Linked DNA regions of Homo sapiens: region 1 is linked to region 2. Evidence: promoter capture Hi-C in human tissues and cell types (Jung and others, 2019). All regions are on one chromosome and are shown on one strand. Each heading gives the region's core, a stretch centred on a gene start or on the middle of the fragment in contact. The rest is flanking DNA. Distances are from core to core; before and after follow the strand shown.

The links. The method cuts DNA at HindIII sites, captures the fragments that hold promoters and counts their contacts. A contact is called where the count stands out against the background at its distance.
Region 1: a contact is called between a fragment that was not itself captured here and the fragment with the promoter of DNAJC27 in region 2, in 1 of the 25 tissues and cell types used here (mesenchymal stem cells).

What each region holds. Positions count from the first base shown.
Region 1 is chr2:24,465,922-24,470,431 of GRCh38, forward strand. No RefSeq gene overlaps it. Among named protein-coding and RNA genes, the nearest start is that of NCOA1, 23 kb to the right of the region's middle. The HindIII fragment of the contact is 6,412 bases long and covers 1-4,510 here.
Region 2 is chr2:24,970,074-24,974,770 of GRCh38, forward strand. DNAJC27 (DnaJ heat shock protein family (Hsp40) member C27) reads right to left here and starts at 1,882. Exons shown (of 7, transcript NM_016544.3): 1 at 1,745-1,882. The coding sequence starts at 1,831. DNAJC27-AS1 (DNAJC27 antisense RNA 1) reads left to right here and starts at 2,039. Exons shown (of 3, transcript NR_034113.1): 1 at 2,039-2,159. RefSeq lists enhancers at 1,293-1,422, 1,376-1,894, 1,433-1,542, 1,803-1,912, 1,895-2,413 and 2 more and a silencer at 1,593-1,672. The HindIII fragment of the contact is 11,912 bases long and covers 1-4,697 here.

The DNA.
Region 1 (4,510 bases), core at 1,099-3,598, 500 kb before region 2:
GCCTGGCCAACATGGTGAAACCCCATCTCTACTAAAAATACAAAAATTAGCTGGGCACGGTGGCATGCACCTGTAATCCCCCCTACGCAGGAGGCTGAGGCAGAAGAATCGCTTGAACCCAGGAAGCCAAGGTTGCAGTGAGCTGAGATTGTGCCACTGCACTCCAGCCTGGATGACAGAGTGAGACTCCCTCTCAAAAAAAAAAAAAAGTTAGTCGGGTATGCTGTTGTGTACCTACAATTTCAGCTACTAGGGAGGCTGAGATGAGAGGATTACCTGAGCCTGGGAGGTCGAGGCTGCAATGACTATGAGCAAGCCACTGCACTCCAGCCTGAGTGACAGAGCAAGACTCTGTCTCAAAAAAGAAAAAAGTAAAACTGGACATATGCAGAAAATAAAATAATCTCAATAGAGAGGCCAGGGAGAGGGAAATGTTTTTCTAACTTTTTTGTTGTGAACCACAGTAAGAAATACATTTTACATCTTCACTCAGTACACATTGTGTGTGTGTGTGTGTGTGTGTGTGTGTGTGTGTGTGTAATTAAAACAACCAAAACATCTTTTTTAAAATAACAGTACATACTATTCTTTTTAAAAAATGCTGGTCATGACCATCCAAATTGATTTCATGACCTACAGTTTGAAAAACATTGCCCTGAGGTGATAGGTGATAGTGTCAGAATCTTGGGAGAGGGTAAGATTTTTAAGTTTATCAAAAAAGAAGCATTTTTCAAACAGTTGACCATGTCCTTAAGAGTGCAGACTTACTTTTCTTTTTATTTTCTTTAGGGCCTCTGCTATATTTCTTTCTTTTATTCCTGCTTACATGGACAATTGAGTGAGATTGCAAAACCAGGTTACTACAGCATGTGGAAATCTTAGATGATATACTACATGAAGTTGGTAAGTCGCAGGTACATGGTTCCATTGTTTTAACTTAAATTAATCTAACAACCTATTAAAAGCTTGTTTAATAAATAGTTTATCATGTGGTTTTTAGTTCTATCAGGTCAATTTTACCCCCCATTCTAAATGCAGGTCCAGTTCTTAGCTCACCTGGCTCACAGGGAAGCAAAGTCCTATTTTCCCTACATACTTGAGACTTCATCCTCCCATACAGGATCGGTCACATTCCACTCAGTCTCTTGAAATCCCAAGCAGTGATATTCTCTCGTCACCTCCACCCACCCGTGCATCAACATACCTTGCAACTGGCTTCTCTTGCTGGCCTTCTACTTAAACTGCTTTTAAAGTAAAGCCCTTTCTAAGAGTGACTTTCTAATCTTTTCTCCTAGATCCTGATCTCACAGCTCCTATATTCTGCTTCTTCCTACAGATCCATTTCCTGTCTATTGGCAGCTTCGTCTGCATTATCATTGTTTCTTGTCTCTTGAACTTTGGTTGGCAACTTGCAATCCTTTTGACTTCAGCCACCACTGCTTTGTTTTTTCCTCAGTCCTAAGTCCTGAGAGAGGGAAAGCAACTTGCTTAGCTCACATTTCGCACCAGATGGCCCCAGGCCGGGGGCCCCCTCTTTCTTCAGTCATTCATTTTTTGGTTACTTTTGGAGGGAGATGTGGTGTGGCATCTCCAGGGAACTTACTCAAGAAGAGGTAGTTGGGAGAGAAGGTAGAAAATGGGTTATCTCTAGCTGAACTTCAGGTTCAACGTCATCTTTATTTTGATCTACAGAGTCCTAGTAGATGACAATACAGGTCTATACACAAGTGATAAATTGTGCAATCAACCAATTCATCCATTTCACAAATGGGAGTGATTGTTTGCTTTATGAAGTGAACTCTTACTTTATATGAGGAACCATCATGGGATTCCTTCAAACAGCAAATTCTCTTTTCATATATACAAAATGATTTATTTTACAAAGGGTGATTACCTGTGGCTTTCTCTCAGGAAAAGGAAGTGAGGTGTCTTCCATCACAATCATATGCCTTACAGTTTTGATACAATACTCAGTCCAGTTCATTGATTTCCATTCTTAAGTACATAAAAATCTTTTTTCTCCCTGGTTTATTTATAGTTGCATCCCATGGACAAATATCCTTTACTCAACATCTCCTTTTACTTTCTTACATTTATCTTGGCTTTCTTTTCCTTTTTACTGTTTACTCCTACACCATTTCCCCTTCCCATTTTAGTCAAATTTGCTTTTGCTCTTTTTGTGCACTTCATAGGTGGACATCCAAGGACATTGATGAATGAAGCTCCAGTCAAGGGTCTGTAGTGTTAAGGCAGCCACATCCAGGCTCTCATAGCACAGAAATACCAGTAACGCTATTGCTCAGGTGTGCTGCGTATGCTTATTCTACTATGCAAGTGATTATATGCCTCAGTTCCACAGTTGACCTTATATCCCAAATCAGCTCAATAAATTAGAATACTTGGCCCCTTTTTTTTAACTTTTATTTTAGGTTCAGGGGACATGTGCAGGTTTGTTATATAGGTAAACTTGTGTTATGGGGGTTTGTTAAATAGATTATTTTGTCACCCAGGTACTAAGCCTAGTACACAATAGTTATTTTTTCTGATCCTCTCTCTTCCCACCCTCCACCCTCAAGTAGGCACAAGTGTCTGTTGTTTCCCTCTTTATGTCCATGTGTTCTCATCATTTAGCTCCCACTTCTGAGTAAGAACATCTGCTATTTGGTTTCCTGTTCCTGCATTAGTTTGCTAAGGACAATGGCTTCCAGCTCCATCCATGTTCCCACAAAGGACATGATCTTGTTCTTTTTTATGGCTGCATAGTATTCCATGGGACGTTCATACACTGTTAGTGAGAGTGTAGCTCAACTGTTGTGGAAAGCAGTGTGGCAATTCCTCAAAGAGCTAAAAGCAGAACTACCATTCAACCCAGCAATCCCATTACTGGGTATATACCCAAAGGAATACAAATTATTCTACCATAAAGACACATGCATGTGTATGTTCATTACAGCACTATTCACAATAGCAAAGACATGGAATCAACCTAAATGCCCATCAATGACAGATTAGACTTGGCCTCTTATGGAAACATATTTTGTTGTTGTTGTTGTTGTTGTATATAATGGCCCTGACTCATTAACTCCTTAAGTCATTCCCCACGTTAGCTAGTTTTCTGTTATCTTCACTTTGATGTTAAGCCAACATCTTAGCATATTTAAAATTGAATTTCTCATACTCTTAGTCACATTATATTCCCTTTCCAGCTTCCTTACTGATGATGATGATGATGAACATTACTGCCTTTCACTTGTCCAGCACATTGCAGCTTTCCTGCACATCATCTTATTTGTGCCTTACAAAACCACTATGTGGTGAGCAGAGACACTTTACAAATGAGAAGAGTGGGCTAAGAGGGGTTAAGTCACTTGTTCAAAGTGGTAGGGACAGGTCTTCTCACTCTCGGTCCTATGCCTTAAGCTCAGAGGCACTACCCTGCTTCTCAAGCTAATAACCTCATCATTCTTTCTGTTCCTTTTTCTCTTGCACGTCCCATGTCTAACTCATCAAAAACTTATCCTAATTTTTTCTTCTACAATGTCTCATACTTGCCATTATCAAAGCAGTTAAACAACTGCCTTCTTGGTTCAGGCCCTCATCTGCTCATTTGTGAGTCACTGCAAGCATCTCCTGTTTTCCACATTTCTGTTCTTTTCTGCTCTAATTCATCCAAAAGGCATTGGTTAGAATATTGTTTATTTTGCATATTTTCTCTCTTTCATATCTTCTTCCCTTTTTTTGGAATGAAGGGTCCACATAGCAGTTGTTGGGACAGCTAGTAATTACCTTAGTAATTCCCATGCCCCACTTGAATAGCAAATATCTGTGGATAATTGGAAAAATAATGTGTGAAGATGCTGCTCTCATGGTATCACTCCCTTGTGGCCCATATCAGTTTTCTATTTCCTGTTCTGGAAAATGCAATCCCTGCAGGCCCTATATCCAAGACTGTCTATTAACTGAATTTGCAGACCCTGCCCTAAGTACCAAGGTGATGTAGTATTTATGCCATCTGTCTCAAATTCAAGGGTGCTTGTAGCCAGGGGACTACCTTCAGGGGAATAAGTGATGTATAGCTATAAATTTTGGTGATGCCAGAAGTAGCCCAAATAATATGAAAAGAAGCAACATGTACTGTGTACCTTTTTGATGCCACCAACAACTCTGGTATTTTACCTACTTTATCTAATTGAATGCCAACATCAACCCTGCAAAGCAGAAAAGCACAGGGGTGGGGTGCAGGGAATCCCAGCTAGGCCGACAAACCTAGGTTCAGCCCAGAGTTCTGACAGATCTATAAATGTCTGGAAGTCTGTTGGGAGGGAATCTATTTGCTTCAAGAATCAAGGAAGTCCAGAGAAAGAGCTCATTCTAAGGACAATGGGGCAAATTTGGGTGAAAGTGGGAGGGATGTCATGAATATTGTAAGCTGCTTGTCGCTAACATTATATGCTGTCTCTGCTCTGGGGATTTCTGCCTTAGTCTAGTGAGATTGAATAAAAGAATAGAA
Region 2 (4,697 bases), core at 632-3,131:
GGTGCTGCCTATTTCATGTTAAGTTTAAACCTAGGAACTTTATTTTTGTTGTAACTGTAAATTAAAATTGTTTTTCAATTACACATTCCAACTGAATATAATTTGGACACAATAAAGTTATTAATTTGTGGGTAATAATTTTGCTTTATTGAATTTTTATAATGTTTCTAATAGTTTTTCAGTTATTTCTCTTTGGGTTTCCAGGTAAACAATCGTATTATTAGCAAATAATGTTAATTTTACCTTCTCTTTTCTAATATTTTTATATTCTCTTACTCTTGTCTAATTGCACTGGCTAATAAAACTAGAAAAATGTTAAGTAGATGTGGTGACACTGGGCATTCTGAGCTGCTTCTAATGTTGTATCATTAGGCACAGTAAAATTACTTTTTTTTTTTTTTTTTTTTTTGAGACGGCGTCTCACTCTGCCGCCCAGGCTGGAGTGCAATGGCGTGATCTCGGCTCACTGCAGCCTCTGCCTCCCCGGCTTAAGCGATTCTCCCGCCTCGGCCTCCCAAGTAGCTGGGATTAAAGGCGTGCACCACCATGCCTGGCTAATTTTGCATTTTTAGTAGAGACAGGATTTCACTATGCTGGTCTTGAACTCCTGACCTCAAGTGATCCGCCCGCCTCGTCCTCCCAAAGTGCTGATGTATTACAGGCCTGAGCTAGCGTGCCCAGTCCCTAGAAAAAAAAAAACACCTCGTACACAGCTGACGTTCAAAAAAATGTTGACTTTCAGTGAATACTATGCTAGCACATACACACAAAAGTAGTACGGGATCATGCTACACAGAAATAAAAAACACTAAGTAAACATTTACTGAGCATCTCCTGGGTGCCAGGCACTGGACTAGGCACTGCCTTAACAGCTCTTTCGGAGTTGATTTTGAACGCATACAACGACGGAAAGAGCACCGCAGTGGGAATGTGAAGACTTAGGTTCTAATCTTTCCTCGGTCACTGATTTGATGACCTTGGGAAGTTCTTAACCAACAGATTCCACTTGCCCAAAAGGAAAGAATTTGAGTGAAGAGGAGGCCGTCTTGGAATTCATAAGGGAAAAGGCCTCAGGTTACCTCTGGCCTTCCCTCCCCACGTACTAAAGGAGAGTTTATAGCTGATGAACCACAGATGGGGCAGAGAGAAGGGCGGTGGAACTAACAGATATGGGGACACCACCAAAAATAAAACACAACGCAAAACAAAACAGCGCGGACCCCGGCCATCCCTTGCACCTCCCCTGTGAAACACGTCAACGTCAGTTACGCTCTCTCGTGACGGGAATGCAGAATCTGGGCTGCCGGGCACCATTTCGCGAACCCCAAATTCTCACACGCACCCCATAACGTTCCGCCGGCTCCCAGGCCCGGCTGGGGGAACTAAACTTTCATCCTCCATCTCCCGGTCCCGGACGGCCCCCTAGAACGCGGGCAAGGTATCTAGGCCGACGGCCCCTCATGGGGACCCAGGCCTTCTTACTCTTTTGGGGGTACATTCAAGGCTTAGAGGCCACCCCAGACACCATCTCCGGAAGAGTGACGTCGGAGGACGAGGGGGCAACGGAAAGGTCAAAAAGGTCGGGGAGTTTCGTTCGCGGAGCCGCACCCCTCGGCTGAGACCCGGGCCTGCTCGGGGGCGGAGAGGAGGCCGGGCCCCAGGCTGTTGAGTGGCCGCCCTTCCAGCCAATGGACACGTCGCCCCGCCACGCTGGGGCCCGCCCCTCCCGGCTCGCTGTACTCACTTTCCCCACTTCGGCGTTGCCCATGGAGATGACTTTGATGCGGAGAGACCTGCCGGGCTCCTTCCGCTTCGGCATGTTGGCCTCCATGGCCCTGGCTCTCTCGGGGCCACCCGCCTCGGTCTCTTCTTGTGCACCGCTGGCCCGTCCCTCAGGCCTCCTCGTCCAATGGCGGAGCCGCTGCTCTCGTCACCGCCTCGCCTCCGCTGCTCGCCATCCCCGCCGCTGCCTGGCAGCAGGCGCGGGCGGTTGGGAGCGTGGGGAGCCGGGGGAGGGAGACGGGAGTCTCGCGATGCTAGCGCGGGGCTGCTGACGTCATCTGCAGGCCCTGGAGACGCGACTGCAGTTACCGAGTTTCTAAGGCCTCGTCCCCTGACGGGAAGGCGGCGTTGGGGGGCGGCTGGGTTTACCCTTCGAGGTGAGCGCGTCCTTGTTTTCAGGGACGCCCGGACGGGAGGCGTTTGTTGCTTTCGCAGCCGAGTGGTGGAAATGTATTGGCTCTTCAGGGCGGGTCTGGTAGTGTCTCGTCCGTTTGGGAGTGTTTTTTTTTTTTTCTGGATTCTTTTTCGGTTCCATGGGCCGGGCTGCTGCTCCTCTTCCCCCTCCAATATTTTGTTCCCCTTGCTCGAGATCCCCGAGAGGCAGACCCCAAAGCCAGGAAAGTGGGGAGGTCGGAACCCTGGTTCTGGAAGAGGGCCTTGGGCAAGGCGTGAAGCGATTCTGAATCTGGTTCCTATTGTTTTTTATTTTAAATGGAGTTGTCTATTTGGAGTCAAGGCAAGAGTGTTTAGTCTTGGCCCTCCTATTACAGATCTCTGATGGATTTGTTGACTCCTCTGTGGGAGAAAGGCTTGGTCTACTGCAGGTGTTAACGCTAAGCCAGGCTGGAGCTGTGGACGTCAGTTTCCTCAGCTCCCCGCTGTTCGCTTCGAACGTGACCTCGACGTCTGCTCTCCCCTTCCCTTTAGCTGACAATGTGACAGTGCTTGAATAAAAGTCAGTCTGACAGGAACGGTAATTTTTTTTCAGTGAATATCTTCAGTTACAGAAGATAAATAGAACTTGACAATGATTATTTATAGTGCCCTGAAAAAAAATGGCTGCCAATTTCCCTGTATATTACAAAGACAAAAGTAGCATTGCTTCTTTTCTCACCTAACTTTAAACATCTTAAGGGAAGTGCATTACAGGAAGGCAATGAGCAAAGGCTCAACATTTCACAGTAAAGTCAGATTTTCCACATTTTAATTTTAAAATGTGTTTTTTAAACATTAAGTTTTTTTTAAGACAAGTTTATTCTGGATTGTTTTGATAATCAAATAATATAACTTAATTCACTGAAGCTTCTAAAATTATTTACAAATATGAAATATAAGTCCTGGTTAGAATTTGGATAGTTTTAAAGCTTAAAAGAATCCACATGCTAACTTCTCAGTATGATTTAATAAATCAAATTACTAAACATGTAATTTCTTCGACAGTTCACCTTTGGCCCTGTAATAGGGTAACTGGTATTGTGGAAGAATAATTATAAAATGTCAAATCTTCAGCTGTTATGATTGATTAAGTATGGTGCTGTTGAGACTAAGCAGTAAAACATGCCACAGATTTAAATTGATTACTATTTTTTTCATATTGATGGGGTTTTTTTTGTTTTTGTTTTTGTTTTTGAGACAGAGTTTCCCTCTTGTTGCCCAGGCTAGAGTGCAGTGGCACAATCTCTGCTCACTGCAACCCCTGTGTCCCGGGTTCAAGCAATTCACCTGCCTCAGCCACCCGAGTAGCTGGGATTACAGGCACCCACCGGTATACGCAGATAATTTTTGTATTTTTAGTAGAGACGGGGTTTCACCATATTGGCCAGGCTGGTCTCGAACTCCTGACCTCAGGTGACCCTCCTGCCTTTGCCTCCCAAAGTGTTGGGATTACAGGCATGAGCCACAGCGTCCGGCCCATATTGATGCTTTTGACACTTTATTGTATATAGCTACATTTTCTACTGTGTGTATTAAATTAGTTTGGAATCGAAAGAGCAAGAAAGTTGTTTTTTTTCCCCCACTCTTTGAATATAAAAAAATAAAAATCAGCACGAGTTAGCTGCTTTTTCCATAGTATGGACCTGGGAGGTATAGTGTGAGCATGGATTCTGGAGCCAGCCCGATACACTTAATCTTGGCATATGTTGTAGGCATGAGGTGGTGATAAGGATTGTAGGAGATAATGCACAGGAAGTACGTAGTAGTCTCCCAGCAAACAGCAGCCACATGCTCTCATTTGCTCATACTTTTTTATGTGTTAAGAAAAATCCTACATCTTTTTAATGTGTATTTTTAGAAAGTAAATTATGAAATATTTAGGACATACTTAAAGGTATAAAGTATAATGGAATGAATAGCCATGTATCCCCCACCCAATTTAAGAAATAAAATATCACCACTGGGCATGGTAGCCCACCCCATAATCCCAGCACCTTGGGAGGCCAAGGCCAGTGGATCATTTGAGCCCAGGAGTTTGAGATCAGCCTGGGCAACATGGCAGAACCCTGTCTCTACGAAAAAAAAAGCCGTTGTGGTAGCCCAAGCCTGTAGTCCCAGCCACGCGGGAGGCTGAGGTTGGAGAATCACCTGAGCCTGGGAGGTTGAGGCCACAGTGAGCTGTGGTCGTGCCACTGCACTCCAGCCTGGGCAACAAAGTTGGACCCTGTCTCTAAATAAATAAATGAAACAAGAAAACATCACTGATACTGTGCGTAGCCTTTCCCAATACATCCCTCTTCCCTCTCTACAAACAGTTGCAACAATCTGAATGCTGCTTTAATTTCCAGGCATTTAAAATTGTTTTACTATATATGAATATATACCTTAAAATGTAGTATTGCATTTCATCTTTCAAAACTGTTTTGAAATAATTTTACACAGAAAATTTCAAGAATGAGACCAAAAAATCTTGTCTACCC